Regions from separate parts of the Homo sapiens genome. Here region 2 is linked to region 1. The links are contacts of gene promoters, found by promoter capture Hi-C in blood cells and fetal thymus (Javierre and others, 2016). All regions are on one chromosome and are shown on one strand. Each heading gives the region's core, a stretch centred on a gene start or on the middle of the fragment in contact. The rest is flanking DNA. Distances are from core to core; before and after follow the strand shown. Region 1 holds the start of SERPINB1 (serpin family B member 1). Region 2 overlaps LOC124901245 (a long non-coding RNA gene).

What was found. The method cuts DNA at HindIII sites, captures the fragments that hold promoters and counts their contacts. A CHiCAGO score of 5 or more calls a contact.
Region 2: a contact is called between a fragment that was not itself captured here and the fragment with the promoter of SERPINB1 in region 1, in 2 of 17 cell types (non-activated CD4 T cells and activated CD4 T cells). The highest score is 6.4, in non-activated CD4 T cells.

The regions. Positions count from the first base shown.
Region 1 is chr6:2,837,412-2,845,111 of GRCh38, reverse strand. It overlaps SERPINB1 (serpin family B member 1), which reads left to right and starts at 3,249. Exons shown (of 7, transcript NM_030666.4): 1 at 3,249-3,300; 2 at 4,518-4,693; 3 at 6,426-6,563; 4 at 7,113-7,230. The coding sequence starts at 4,526. RefSeq lists a silencer at 3,305-3,354. The HindIII fragment of the contact is 1,424 bases long and covers 3,021-4,444 here.
Region 2 is chr6:4,008,120-4,015,819 of GRCh38, reverse strand. LOC124901245 (a long non-coding RNA gene) reads left to right here. Exons shown (of 2, transcript XR_007059415.1): 2 at 4,220-7,700. Among named protein-coding and RNA genes, the nearest start is that of PRP4K, 9.3 kb to the left of the region's middle. The HindIII fragment of the contact is 3,852 bases long and covers 1,586-5,437 here.

The DNA of each region.
Region 1 (7,700 bases), core at 2,000-4,499:
TCAAGATGCTTCTGAGAGTTCTGGGTGATCAGTAGCAGCTCGTTTGAAGAGCCAGAAAAAGTCTAAGTTCTACTTTCAGGAGCTGGAGGCAGGAGGAATAATTCAGGAATAATTCAAGGTGGAGGAGAATAAGGAAAAACGCTTAGGAGACTGACACTTCTCCATATTATTGTTGGATGAGATGGGCTAGGAAGACTCGGGGGCAGTAATGTGGCCGTGTCCACACATTTCTCCTAGACAAGAGGGATAAGAACAAGGCCGGCTTCTCAAGAAGAGCCCCTGTCTTAGTCTTTTCCTGCTGCTTTATCAAAACATCTTGTAAACACTAGACACCTATTTCTTACAGTTCTGGAGGCTGGGAAGTCCAAGGCTGGGAAGTTCGAGATCTGCAGGTGCAGACTCAGTGTCTGATGAGGGCATTTTCTTGCGGTGTTCTCATTTGGTGGGAAAGGCAGAAGGGACAAATGCTGTGTCCTCACCTGACAGAACAGATGTTTTATGGGCTGAATGTGTCTCCCCAAAATTCATATGTTGAAACTTTATCACCAATGTGATAGTATTAAGAGGTAGAGCCTTAAGAAGTGCTTAAGTCATGAGGGCAGAACCGTCATGGGTGGGATTTGGGCCCTTGAGGGAGTGCGTTCATCCCTTTCCATCCCTCCCACCGCCACGTGAAGATACAGTATATTTCCCCCTTGGATGCAGCAACAAGGTGCCATTTTGGAAGCAGAGAGCAGCCCACACCAGGCACCAAATATGTGGATGCCTTATTCTTGGACTTCCCAGCCTCCAGAACTGTGAGCAATACATTTCTGTTTTTAATAAATTGCCCAATCACAGGTATTTATAGCAGCACAAATGGACTATGACAGAAATTGATACTGAGAATGGGATGTTGCTATAACTAATACCTAAATATGTGGAAACAGCTTTGAAACTGAGTAATGGGTAGAGGCTGGAAGAATTTGGAGATGCATGCTGGAAAAAGCCTGTATAGACATAAACAGAGCTTTAAGGGAAATTAAGGGTGAGGGCTCAGAAGACAAGGAGAGCTGTAGGGAGAGCCTAAATCATCTTAGAGATTAATTAAGTGGTCTGGTCTTGATCAGAATGCGGTTAGAAGTATAGATGGTAAAGACACTTTTGATGAGATCTTAAAAGGAAACTGGAGGAAAGGTCATCCTTGTTACACAGTGGCAATGAACTTGGCTGAATTGTGTCTATGTCCTAGTGTTTTCTGAATGGCAGAACTTAAAGGCAATAAACTAGGATATTTGATGGAAGAAATCTCTGAGCAAAGCGTTGAGAGTGCAGCATGGCTTCTCTTGACTGCTTGTAGTAAAATGTGAGCAGAGAGAATGAATTAAAAACGAAGTTTATAATCAAGAGGGAAGCAGAGCTTAAAGTTTTGGAAAATTCTCAGCCTGGCCATGTAAAGAATGAAAAGGCATGTTTGGGAGGGAACACCAAGAGTGCTGCCAGGTTCACATTTGATAATGAGATGAGTATGTGTAGAAGGAAGCCAGATGCTATTTATCAAGACAATGGAAGAATGAACCCAAAGGCATTTCTGAGGTTACTGGTTCTGGATTCTCATCCCTGTCCCAGAGTGCCAGGACCCTGAGGGCAGAATAGTTTTAAGGGAGGACTCAGGACACCATGGAACCTTGGGGCTTGCTGCCTAGGGCTGCCTCAAGTCTCTGCCCCCCCACCCCCCACATTCTGGTGCAGCACTCTTTGGCCACCATCCCACGTGTGGCTTATGCAGGCCCTTGTCAGGCCACCCTTCCTGTAAGCCTTGGCAGAGTCCACGTGATGCTAACTCTGCAGGTGCACAGAGTGCATGAACTGTGGAGACACAGCCACCTCCACCTAGATTTTGAAGGATGTGTTGGGGACCCTGGGGGCCCAGTCTGAGAATTGTCACTGAGGTGAGGCTGCTGCAGAAAACCCTCACTAGGGCAATGTTTAGTGGAGCAGTGGGATTGGGGCCACTGCAGAGAGCCCCAAATAGAGTAATATCTAGTGGAGCTGTGGGAACAGGGCTGTCCCTGAGAACCCAGAACTGTCCAGCCACCAGCATGCAAGTCTATCCTGGGAGAGCCTAGACCTCAACCTGTGAGAGCTGCTGCATGGGTTGCACCTGGCAAATCCATGGGAGTGGATCCCCTGGACACTAGGGGACCCAGTCTCCACCCCCCTGTGCTCGGAATGGGGGACACAGCATCAAAGAAGATTATTCTGAAGCCCCAAGATTTAATGCTGTTTGCCTTGTTGGGTTTGGACTTACTTGGGACCAGATACTCCTTTCTTCTTGCCTGCTTCTCCCTTTGGGAATGGGAATGTACGTCCTATGCCTGTCTCATCACTGTATTTTGAAGGCCTGTAACCTATTTGATTTCACGGGCTCATAGCTGGAGGGGAATTTCACTTAGGATGAATTGTACTTTGAATCTTATGCCTTTCTAATTTAGAAGATATTTAGGTGAGACTTTGGACTTACATTTTAAAGTTGATACTGGAACTTTGGAGGCCACTGGGATACAATGCATGCATTTTGCATGTGAGAGGGGTATGAATTTGGAGGGCAGGGGCAGAATGCTATGCTTTGAATGTCTGTGTTCCCTGCAAAATTCATGCTGAAACAATCCTCAATGCAATACTAACAGGTGGTGCCTTTAGGAGGTGACTGGATTATGAGGGCACCTTCCTCATGAATGGGATTGGCCCCTTATACGAGAGACTTCACATGAGATTTGGCCCCTTTTGCCCTTCCACTTTCCACCATTGAGGACGCAGCAGCAAGCTGTCATCTTGGAAACAGAGAGCAGGTGTTTGGAACTGGTTCTGTTTCATCTGATTCTGGGGGCCCCTCTTTTTCCCTGTGCAAGATCCCCAAATTTGCTTCCTTCTCTCAAAGAAAGCTCCCAATATAGATGGGACTCAAAGGGAGTCATTTGCCCTCTAAGAGGTGTCACAATATGTCGTCTCAGTCATTCACACCTTAGTAAGAAAAAGCTTTTCAGGTCCTTGCCAGAGATTCGGGGAAAGGCTTTGAACTGAGAAAGAAGCCGCGCCCCTGAGGAGGGCGCTGCCCGGAAGCCACGCTCACTTCTGCTTGCACTTAGGCGACCTCGGGAGCTCGGACTCCTACGCAGTCACCGGGAAGGGCCGCCGCCCCGCCCGCGGCTGCTGGCCCGGGTGACGCTTCCGCCTGCTATAAGAGCAGCGGCCCTCGGTGCCTCCTTCCTGACCTCGCACCCAGCTCGGAGCCCGGAGCGTGCCTCGGCGGCCTGTCGGGTAAGGCCGGGCCTCGGAGCGGTGGCGCGGGGGCGGGCGCGGGGAGAGGCCAGGCTCCCTCGCTCAGCTTCCAGCCCGGCACCCCCCACCCCCCAGGCTCAGGCCCCTCAGACCCGCAGCTCCCTGCGCTCGCCCTCCCCGCCAGCTTCGCGCCCCCATCCCTTCCGGGCGCCCCGACGGAGACAGACGACCTCTGATCCCCCGCCCCCGCCTGGGTACAGGCCGGGCCAGCCCGCGAGGGAGGGAGGGAGGGAGGACGACAGATGCAGGCGGAAGGCAAGACTGAAACCTGAGATCAGAATGTTGTCCCTTCTCCCTGAATTCCCTTCCTCCCAGAGCTGTTTGTGACGGTTTCCAGGCAGCCCAGGGCCAGGCCGCGGCTCCTATCTGCAGCTGCAGGGAGAGAGAGGAGGAACCCCGTGCGATTCTAGAGACGATTTCACAACAAGGAGAAATCAGCTTTGTGCTTACATGCCGAGCAGCCAGCACGGTTCTTCTTTGCCTGTCCTCGGGGGAAATCAGGGCTCTGAGAGTGGAGATCGAGATGGGCTAGTGGGTGGCGGATGGGACGCTGCACGGCCAGACCCTGGACTGTGGTGGGTTTCCAAACTGGCACATCCTACACCGGCTCTGAGACTGTGGGCACTGGACCTCATACCTTTTGAACCTCAAAAATAAGGAAGAATTATATTATTATAATAATTACAGTGATACCTTTGCTGGAGTTTTAATGCATAGTAGGTAGCTGAGTCTCTGATAGAAGGCTCTTAGTTCAGGTGAAGGTAGGCAATGGATTCATTGCCCAATGAATCAGAGACTTGAATCAAAGGCTCAGAAGCACGTGCGCTCCCACACATAGGTTGGGAAGACCCAGGGCTGGGTGGGCCCTCCCACCCCACTAAAGCTGGGGTAGCTGGGGCCTGCCTTACCCCCGCCCCACCCCCAGACTCACCTGTCTGCAAGGTCAGAGCCCTTTAGGGCACCCTGGGTGCCCTAAAATCCCCTATAACTGCTGAGTCCTTGGCCAGAATGGTCCCACATTTGTGGGCCTGGGAAAGTGTTCTTGCCCTGCTGGAATAAAAAAGCGGGGAGAAAGTACAAGATCCAGGATGCCTCAGGGCGGTTGGCAGAAATTGAGGAAGCTTCTGGAGAAATAGTGCTGCCTAATCTGCTGGCGTGGGCAGTGGGCACCATGAGGACCCTGTTCTGTGTTGCAGTTTTCACCATGGAGCAGCTGAGCTCAGCAAACACCCGCTTCGCCTTGGACCTGTTCCTGGCGTTGAGTGAGAACAATCCGGCTGGAAACATCTTCATCTCTCCCTTCAGCATTTCATCTGCTATGGCCATGGTTTTTCTGGGGACCAGAGGTAACACGGCAGCACAGCTGTCCAAGGTCAGCAGAAACAAAAAAAAGGGTCTGCTTTCCTCCCATCTCCCTACGAATGGACAGTCTGCATGGAAAGGTTGTGCCTTTGAGCTCTTACCTTGTGTTTTCAGAACTGTATTTTTATGAGATCAGACTTTCAGAAAAGTCACACTTGTATGCAGGCTTCCATTCATCATCAGGTTTTTCCTAAGTACCTACCACGTACCAGGAACTGTTTTTCGTATTGCTGAGGAGACAGCAGTGAGCAAAGCTGACAAAAATCCCTGCAGGGCGAGGCTTCTGTTCCAGTGGATGAATCTGACAGCTTTCCTGAAAGGCATACTACATCCTCCTGAGCTAGCATCTTCCAGTTTTTGCTTTGCATATGATGATATGCAACTCATAAATATTGCCTGTTATATAACACTACTTTCAAGCATAATGAGAGGAATAAGACATAGGGAATGCATTATAGTGGAGATAGTGGCATTGCTTTTTTGCAAGGAAAAGAGAAAAAGTGACCCTGTGGTTCTGTAGTCCCAGGGTGCTGCGCATGGCTCAGTGGGCTGTGGCATAGCACGCCCTGCAGGGGAGGTGAGGGGGAGACCCGCAGCTTCAGGGGCGGGACCCAGCCCTTGGCGATGTGACAGGTCACTCTCATGCCCAGCCTTCCTTCTTGTCCATAATGGACATGGAGAGGACTTCTGTGCTTGGTACTCTTTAATTCTGAGAAGAGAACTCTAGCTCTCTCTCTCTAAGCTCAGCAGAAAGGAGTGGTAAAAGTGGAGGCTCTTCTAACATACCTGCCGCAAATTACACTGCACCTGTTCCTTGGCAAGGTGCAGCCTGGGATTCAAGTTCAAGGGGCTGCGAAACTTCTATTACTCATCACTTTAGATATGAAAGCATTTTAAATGTTTTTTTTAAATCCATTAAAAAAAAAAAACCTCTGTTACTAATTGTTAGTTGCTTCTTGCAGGGTTATATCAGTTCCTAGCTTGAGGTTTTCCAGGGACTTTAAAACCTCAGCAAAGAATAGTTTTAAGGACTCCTCCCCCATTTCCATTAAAGCAGATGGAGCATAGGCACAGTGCAAACATTCCATATCTCGGTGAGTAATGTGGACTTCGTACCCTATGCAATTTTGTTCTTTGTGTCTTAATCATAAAGGAACCAGCCTAGGTCTCATAAAACCACAAAGGGCCTCTTGATTTGTAACTGATACATGGGGAATTAAACTTTTGCCAGAATGTTAAGTTTAAGGAAGTTATTTTAAAATAAGTGAGTTACTGATGTTAATAGGGTAATAAAATTTTAAAAGCTTCAGTCTGTACTATCTTTGTGGTTCTGAATAGAGGATGAATCCTATTTTTACTGCTTATTTCTGAGAACTTTCAGTAAAATTATATTTGATACAGAATATAAATATGAACATACCATTTATTATTTTCTTTGGAAAAGGCAGACTTATATATAAATATTTAGTATCTTAACCACCCACATTTGTGGAACTGCAAGTGTAACAAAGAGTGATGTAAAAGCAATGTGTAAAGTTGTAAACATTCTGTCTCACGAAGCCATAAATTTTGGATTTCCTATTGTTTGTTCTGCAATGACAAATTAATAAAGTATTGGGTTTGGGATCATCAATAATTAGTAATAAAAACACATTAATTTAATGTGATAGAAGGAAACACCAAGGAATCACTTTATAGTTTCAAAATAAATGGTTGTAGAAAGAAGATTTTCTTTATTTTAGACTTTCCATTTCAACACGGTTGAAGAGGTTCATTCAAGATTCCAGAGTCTGAATGCTGATATCAACAAACGTGGAGCGTCTTATATTCTGAAACTTGCTAATAGATTATATGGAGAGAAAACTTACAATTTCCTTCCTGTAAGTACTTTGCCCTTCACATTCTAAAACCCCACTAGACAGTGCAGATATTTTCCAGCACAATCAAGTCATGGAGGTCAGTTTTAATATTTGTAAACTTTCAGAAAAACAATACAGAAGGCAAACATGGCAAAAACAATATGGAAGGCAAACACGACAGAATGCAAACTTTAATTGACATGGTGATTTTGTGTTACAGTCTTTTTAGTGAAAAGATAGCTCTTGGAGGTTTTACTGAAGCAAGAGTACAATCAGTGTTTGTGAAATCTTAGTCAAAGTTCAGAAAAGAGTGGTAATTTCTATATAACAACAACAGTATAAGGGTTAGGCTTACCACTACTGGAATGCACAGTTAAAAGTGGCTAAGATCGTAAATTTAATGTTAAATGATTTTTACTACTATAAGAAAAACTATAAGAGTTAGAAATTTTGTGTTACATGGAATTGTAGCCTTTTAGGACAATTTCTGTTGCTTTTTGGGATTTTAGAAAACAATTTCTATATGTAGTAGGAGTTATATATATATTTCCTTTTCCTTTTTTTTAATAGGAGTTCTTGGTTTCGACTCAGAAAACATATGGTGCTGACCTGGCCAGTGTGGATTTTCAGCATGCCTCTGAAGATGCAAGGAAGACCATAAACCAGTGGGTCAAAGGACAGACAGAAGGTGAGAGCCTGGGCAGAATGGAATCATTATGCGCTGGTCATGTCATTCGTTTCCTCAGTCCGCCTTCCCTACCTGCAGTTATTCCCTCCCCAGCTCCCACAGTCCTGGCGCACATCGTGGTTACAGTCAGAGGACGCTGCCGGTGCGTGAAGTCTGCACTGCACGTTGCTGGACAGCTCTCACATGTTCGAAGTTCACCAGAGTGGAAACTTAAACATGATTTAACTCAAGCAGCTAAATCCTTTTTTCTCATCAGCTCCCCAAAACTTTTAAAGTTGCATTTCAAAGTTAAAACCAACATTGGCAGGCGCGGTGGCTCATGCCTGTAATCCCAGCACTTTGGGAGCCCAAGGCGGGCGGATCATTTGAGGTCAGGAGTTCAAGACCAGCTTGGCCAACATGATGAAACCCTGTCTCTACTAAAAATACAAAAAATTTAGCCAGGTGTGGTAGCACACACCTGTAATCCC
Region 2 (7,700 bases), core at 2,262-4,761, 1.2 Mb before region 1:
CTTCCTTGTGGGTTTATCCTTTTATCATTAAAAATGTTTCTCTTTTTCTCTAGTAACATTGTTTTAAAGTCTATTTTGTCTGATATTAATGTAGCTATTTCAGTTCTCACGTGATTACTATTTACATGCTTTGTATCATTGACTCTAAAATGTGTCTCCTGTAGACATATAGTTGGATCTTGGTTTGTTTTTTGTTTGTTTGTTTGTTTTTTGTTTTGAGACAGAGTCTTGCCCTGCCTCCTTGGCTGGAGTACAATGGCGTGATCTGGGCTCACTGCAACCTCCACCTCCCGGGTTCAGACGATTCTCCCACCTCAGCCTCCCCAGTAACTGGGATTACAGGGGCCCGCCACCACGCCCAGCTAATTTTTGTATTTTTAGTAGAGACGGGGTTTCACCATGTTGGCCAGGCTGGTCTCAAACTCCTGACCTTGTGATCCACCTGCCTCGGCCTCCCAAAGTGCTGGGACTACAGGCATGAGCCACTGTGCCTGGCCGGATCTTGTTTTTTTTAATCTGATAATTTCTGCCTTTTGATCCAATTGTTTAATCATTCACATTTAATGTTATTGATATAGTTGGATTTATGTATGCCATCTTATTTTTGTTTTCCTTATGTCTTGTCTTTTTCTTTTCCTGTCTCTCCTTTACTGCTTTGTTTTGGATCAAGTGAATATCTTCTAATGTAGCATTTTAATTTCTTGAATGATTTTTTACACTGTTTTAAGTTTTTTTTAGAGACTGTAGTGGTGCTCTAGGGCTTACCGTACAATTAGCTTAACTTATTAGAATCAGCTTCAGATTTATACTAACTCAATTGCAGTGAGATATAGAAACCTTACTCCAATATAGTTTTATTCCATGTCCCTGTTTTTTTGTGGTTTTGTTGTTGTACATGTTATAGTTGTTACAAACTCAACAATACATTACTACAATTATTACTTTTACATCATTTAAAGAAAATGAACAAAGGAAAGCAAATATATATTTGTAGCTTTTGTTATAGTAACCTTATTTATCATTTCAGGTTGTTTGTTTATTTTTCTTGTGGATTCATTACCATCTGGAGTAATTTTGTTTTCTTTTTCTTTCTTTTTTTTTTTTTTGGAGGGATAACAGGGTCTTGCTCTGTTGCCCAGGCTGCTGGAGTGCAGTGTCATGAATATATCTCACTGTAGCGTCAAACTCCTGGACTCAAAGTGATCCTTCCACCTCAACCTCCTGAGTAGCTGGGACTACAGGCACATGCCACCAGGCATGGCTAATATTTGTATTTTCTGCACCTCAGCCTTCTGAGTAACTATATTACTCTATAAGCACACATCACCACACCCAGCTAATTTTTAAATTTTTTATAGAGACAGAGTCTCACTGTGTTGCTCAGGCTGGTCTCTAACTCCTGGCCTCAAGTGATCCTCCAGCTCTGGCCTCCCAAAAGTGCTGGGATTACAGGCATGAGTTCTTTGTATGAGTTCCTTGTATATTTTGGATATTAACCCCTTGTTAGATAAAAGGTTTTTCAGTATTTTCTCCCATTCCGTGGACTGCCTTTTCATTTTGTTGTTTCCTTTGCTGTGCAGAAGCTTTTTTGTTTGGTTTAGTTCCATTTGCTTATTTTTGCTTTTGTTGCCTGTGCTTTTGGTGTCATTTACAAAACAAACAAACAAAATTATTGCCAAGACTAATGTCATGGAGCTTTTCCACTGTTTTCTTCTAGTTTTACAGTTTCATGTCTTACACTTAAGTCTTTTCACTTTTTTTTTTTTTTGAGACAGAGTCTCCCTCTGTTGCCCAGGCTGGAGTGCAGTGGTGTATGATCTTGACTCACTGCAACCTCCACCTCCTGGGTTCAAGTGATTCTCCTGCCTCAGCCTCCCGAGTAGGTGGGATTATAGGCATGTGCCACTGTGCCCGGTTTATTTTTGTATTTTTAATAGAAATGGGGTTTCACCAGGCTGGTCTTGAACTCCTGACCTCAAGTGATCCACCCGCCTCAGCCTCTCAAGGGACTAGGATTACAGGCAAGAGCCACTGCGCCTGGCCTCTTTTAACCATTTTGAATTGACTTTTGTGGATGGGGTAAGATAAGGGTCCAATTTCATTTCTTGGCATGTGGTTATCTAGCTTTTTCAACACCATTTATTAAAGAGACTATCCTTTCTTTATTGTGTACTTTTGACACCTTTGTTGATGATTAGTTGGCCACATAAACGAGGATTTATTTCTGGGATTCCTATTCTGTTCCATTGGTCTATATGTCTCCTTTTATGCCAGTACCATACAGTTTTGATTACTGTAGGTCTGTAATATAATTTGAAATGAAGTGTGATGCCACCAGCTTTGTTCTTCTTGCTCAGGATCATTTTAGATATTCTGGGTCTTTTGGGTTCTGTATGGATGTTAGGAATTTTTTTTTTTTTTCTGTGAAAAATGTCATTGGAGTTTTGCTAGAGATTGCGTTGAATCTGTAGACTACTTTGTGTATTGCAGACATTTTGACAATAATGATTCTTCTGATCCTGAACATGGGATAGCTTTCCATTTATTTGTGTCATCTCCAGTTCTTTCATATATGTATTATAGCTTTTAGCATACACATCTTTCCCCTCCTTGGTAAAACTTATTCCTAAGTATTTTATTCCTTTTGATGCTATTGTAAATGGGATTGCTTTCTTAATTTCTTTCTTGGATACTTCACTGTTAGTGAAGTGTAATTGATTTTTGTATGTTGATTTTGTATCCTGAAACTTTACTGGATTCGTTTATTCATTCTAACAGTTTTTAGTGGCGTATTTAGGGTTTTCTGTATATAGGATGATGTCACCTGCAGAGACAATTTTACTTCTTCCTTTCTGATTTGGATGCCTTTTATTTCTTTTCCTTGCCTAATTTCTGTGGCTAGGATTTCTAGTACTATGTTGAATGTAAGTGATAAGTGTGGGCATCCTTGTCTGTCCTTGTCACATTCAGTTGTATGTGCAATACTGGAACCATCCAGCTCATAGTCACGTAATTCCTCTTTGTGCAGCCTCATGTAAAATCACACCCCTATTCACATTTTTTTCTGTCTGTCTCCCACCTCTCCAGGTCCCTGCCCTGCAACTTTCAGTTACTTCAGACTCTCAGAAGACTAGCCTCTAAATACCTCAATTTATCTGCACTACTGTGGTCTACTTGAAATTCTCTTCCCTCTTCTGCAGTTTGTAATGGCATTCAGGCCAAAAACTGTAGTAGTTTTAGGGCTCTCTTCATTTGCTTCTCTGCTCCTAGGGATCATAGTGCTGTGCTATCTGTTGTCCAGCATCTGACACAGTTGGTTTTATATTTTGTCTGGTTTTCTAGTTATTAAGCAGGTTAAGTCTGGTTCCTGCTGTTCTATATAGCAGGAAGCAAAGGTTCTCTCATGAATTTTTAGCATAATAACATAAGCGTGGATTCCAAAAATTCATTACACAGATCCTGGAAATCTGTTTACTATGTTTTATACATTCTGTGAAAGCTGGAGAATATATATTTGTTTTACTATGTGTATCGCAAATAAAATATCAATTTCATGTGCCAGAGAATTGAATACATTATCAAAGGGTCATTTCATAACGTTATAATCACCATCCATCCTGTAAGTCCTTTGAAATTTCTTCTTTTCTATGGATCTAACATTGATCAATAACGAATTCCTAAGCATCTATATTAGTTAGCCCAGTGTTTCTCAAAGTCCACCGCATGTAAAAATCATCTAGGGAATCTTTCTAAAATGTGGATTCTGATTTAGTAGGTCTGGGGTGAGGTCTTCCCTTTTGCAATTCCAGCAAGTTCCCATGGGATGCTGGTACTGGTTAATGGAAGTCACTTAGAGTAGCAAGGAGCCTGTTTGCCTAGTATTTACAATGAGCACGTTTTGGGTATCATCAAAACAAGAGAATCTAAAAATGTATGGTGTGGGTGGAAGGTTGTGTTACTTGATATTTCAAAAAGATCATTGAAATCAGAAAATCTCAGAGATATGTTGGATTTCATCACATTTATTCTATGGCTTAATGTTGTTTTATTTTGAATATATAATAAGAGAGATACCACAAATCTTTAGCTATTAATATTTAGGGATGTTAATGTCCTTAATTCATATTGTCTCAAATGTGATTCATTCCCTCTATAGGTATACTAAAACAGGCATTCATGCCTACAAAACCATCTTCCTAACTTTCTTTCCTCTTTTTAGTCTCTTCCTGAACCAGTGACAGTGGTTCTCAAACATTTTGGTCTGAGGACCCCTTTATGGCCTTAAAAATGATCGAAGAGCTTTTATTTATGAAGGTAATACCTGCTAATACTTGTTGTAATCTATTAACATTGAGAAATGTAAAAATTTTTATTAATTCACTTAAAATATCAATAAACCCATTATTTGCTAATATAAATTGCACTTTTTAATGAAAAATAACTTTAGTTTCTACTGTGTGCTTCTGCATTTTGAAAATATGTCTAGGATACGGTATGTATTTAGGAGATATTTTCTAAATAAATGCATATTCATTTTTTAAAATGGGACAAATGTAGCATAGACATATTTTTGCTAACAATATCCATATAGTTGCAAATTTCACTTTTAGAATTTGCTTTCAAAAACAGGTTGTTTATTCTTCTTTGTTATGCCTTAGTTAGTAAATCATATATTATAAAACTTCTTCAATGCAATTGGTCTTTGGTCAGCCATTGACATAGGAAGAGTTAGAAAGAGTCCAGGGCTCCTTGGTACTGGCTGTGACTGGATAAGTAGGTTGTGGCTTAGTTTGTGTTTAGGTGTCATAACTAGGCTAGGTTTGGGTCCCAGAAAGTGCTAGCCTTACTGTAGGAGAGGAAGTGGTATTGCTGGGTGTGTCCTCAGGTCAGGAAGTGGGACGAGTGCAGTATGGAAGCCCAGGGGGGTCCTTGTGACTGGAGGAAAGGTGAGGTTTCCAGTAAAGGATTCAGAATTCGGGCATGGTGCAGCATGCCTATAGCCCCAGCTACTCAGGAGGCTGAAGTGGGAGGATCACTTGAGACCAGGAGTTCAAGGTTGCAGTGAGCTGTCATTGCGCCACTGCACCCCAGCCTGGGTGACAGAGTGAGACCTGTCTCAAAAATAAATACATAAAAATAATAATTAAAAAAAAAGGATTCAGAATTCTAGAATACATATTATCTTTCTATCATGCAGATCTGTTCTTAGGATTGTATTTTCCAAATCATGAATAAAATAATTTCCAAAATACTTATTGGGAAATTATATATATGTACTGTATTACTTGGAATAAAAATCAAATAAAAGTCAAACTTCTTAATGTGGCTGTAAAGCCTTGATTATTTAAACCTTGCCTATTTTTCAGTTTAATCTTTCAGCCACACTGGCCCTTGTGTTAATCCTAAAACATGCCATGCTTTTTCCTACATTAAAGCTTAGGGTTTTTGATATTTCTACTGCCTGGATTTCTCTGTTCTCACTCTTCCTCTTGATCACCATGACTTATTTTTCAAGTGTTGGCTTAAATGTCCGTCTCACAGATAGCCCTTATCTAAATAACAGCTTTCCCTCTGGTTCCTAGATAAATTAGGACCTGTTTTTTTCTATAACTTTCTTAAAGTATCCTATTATTTTCCCTGATAAAACCTTGTTGGACTGTTTGTCAGTATATTTATTTGCCTGTTTGTTTGGTGTCAGTTTCTCTTTTTTTCCTGTGTGTTTTGTTTGTTTGTTTTTTTGAGACGCAGTTTCACTCTGTCACCAGGCTGGAGTGCAATGGTGCAATCTCGGCTCACCACAACCTCCACCTCCCAGGTTCAAGCAATTCTTCTGCCTCAGCCTCCCGAGTAGCTGGGATTACAGGCATGTGCCACCATCCTGGCTAATTTTGTATTTTTAGTAGAGACAGGGTTTTTCCATGTTGGTCAGGCTGGTCGCAAACTCCCGACCTCAGGTGATCCGCCTGTCTTGGCCTCCCAAGGTGCTGAGATTACAGGCGTGAACCACCGCACCCGGCCTGTTTGTTTGTTTTCTTATTAGACTATAAACTATATGAGATCAGACCATGTCTCTTTTGTTTATCACTCTGGCCTACCTGCTAACACAGTGCTTACACATAATAGTAGGTGCTCAAGAAATACAGTGTTTGATGGATGAACGTAAAATTGTAAGAGCCTGAACTAGTGTAATATCGAAAATAGGGAGGAAGACATGAATTAGGAAAGCCTTTGAAAAATTAGCATGTTCTGTGATAAAGCTACATCTAGGCAATATTTTTTGATACTTTTAAAAAAAAAACTGTAATAGCTACCCAATATTTAGGAATGATACACATCACACATCTCAGTGAGGTATGTAGCCTTTTGTACTGGTGAAGAGAGCCAGGTGAAGTCTAACTCTAAGGATCTAAACACTCCATTCTAGTAGAGAGCCTGGAGAAGTGCTCTTGCATAAGCTCATCCATGTAAGACCATCCATAACTTAGTGAAATAATTTTCATTGCTGTTTAGTTGCAAAAATCACTCACTGTTTTGCCTCCATAAGATTATCGGTTTTAGTGTTTAATCGTTCACAGCCTTGTCAAAACCAAAATGGCTAGGGAGAGAACTATTTCCCTACATTAAAACTTCGAGCAATGCTCTTCATAGATTTTGTTTTGAATTGTTTAGGCCCATCTCAGAGTTCAAGACACTTAGTCTCTTCTAAGAGAAATCATGGTCACAACAAACAGAGATTAAATAAAGAGCAAGAAATTAGAAGAAACTCAAACCATTCACTTAGATTATTTGTTAGATTTTGGCCTTAAAAAGAGACAAAGTTGCTTGAAACAAGTGATTAAACTGACATTTTTAGATTATTATTTTATTCATACCTTTATTGTGAATAAATTGGCCACATGATAACATTTTATAATGTTAAATAAATATGATATATATAAATCTGTATACCACAACAATTAAATTGGAGGGCGATTTGCCATTTAAATAATTTATCATAGGATTTTTATAAGATCAAGCGCTTAGTGCATATCAAAGAGACAGAAAGTTTTCATTGCAGTTCTGCACGTTCACTGAGTACCTTTTATGTACCAGTTGCATTGTTCTAGAATCTTATCTATCATGTAAAGCTAGGTACACCTGAAATAGTTTAGTTATGGTGGCAAAGTTAGACTGCAGTTATTGGCTGGGAATTTTTTGTATATCTATGTACATCTTCCATAAGAGGGCAGCAAAGGACCAGCATGATTTTTTCCTTATCATGAAGTCATAGCAGAGATTGCCTCATATTGCAAACTTAATAGAAATCTTCTCAGAGTAAGGGCAAACAGAGGGCATGGTTACAAGTTTACTTACTGTCTAGCCTGTCTTTTATATGGTCTGATATGGCTTTTTAGTACATAGATTATCTCACATCACAGTGATAGCCTAGTGATTAAATGTTGATCCTGGGGTCAGTTGTCAGGCTTTAAATCCTGGAACCATAACTTAACTAGCTTCGTGGTCTAGAAAGACTACTCAGTCTTTCTGAGCCTCAGTTTCTTCCTCAATTTTTTATAAAAAGGAGGGCAAGGGATAGTAACAATGCCACTTCACATGGTTTTAATAAACAAAATAAAATTTGTGTCCTGAAGAGGCTAAGAACAGTTAAAAGGTGGAGCTAGAAAAACCACCCTATACTAGCCTTAGGTGTATTGTATTTA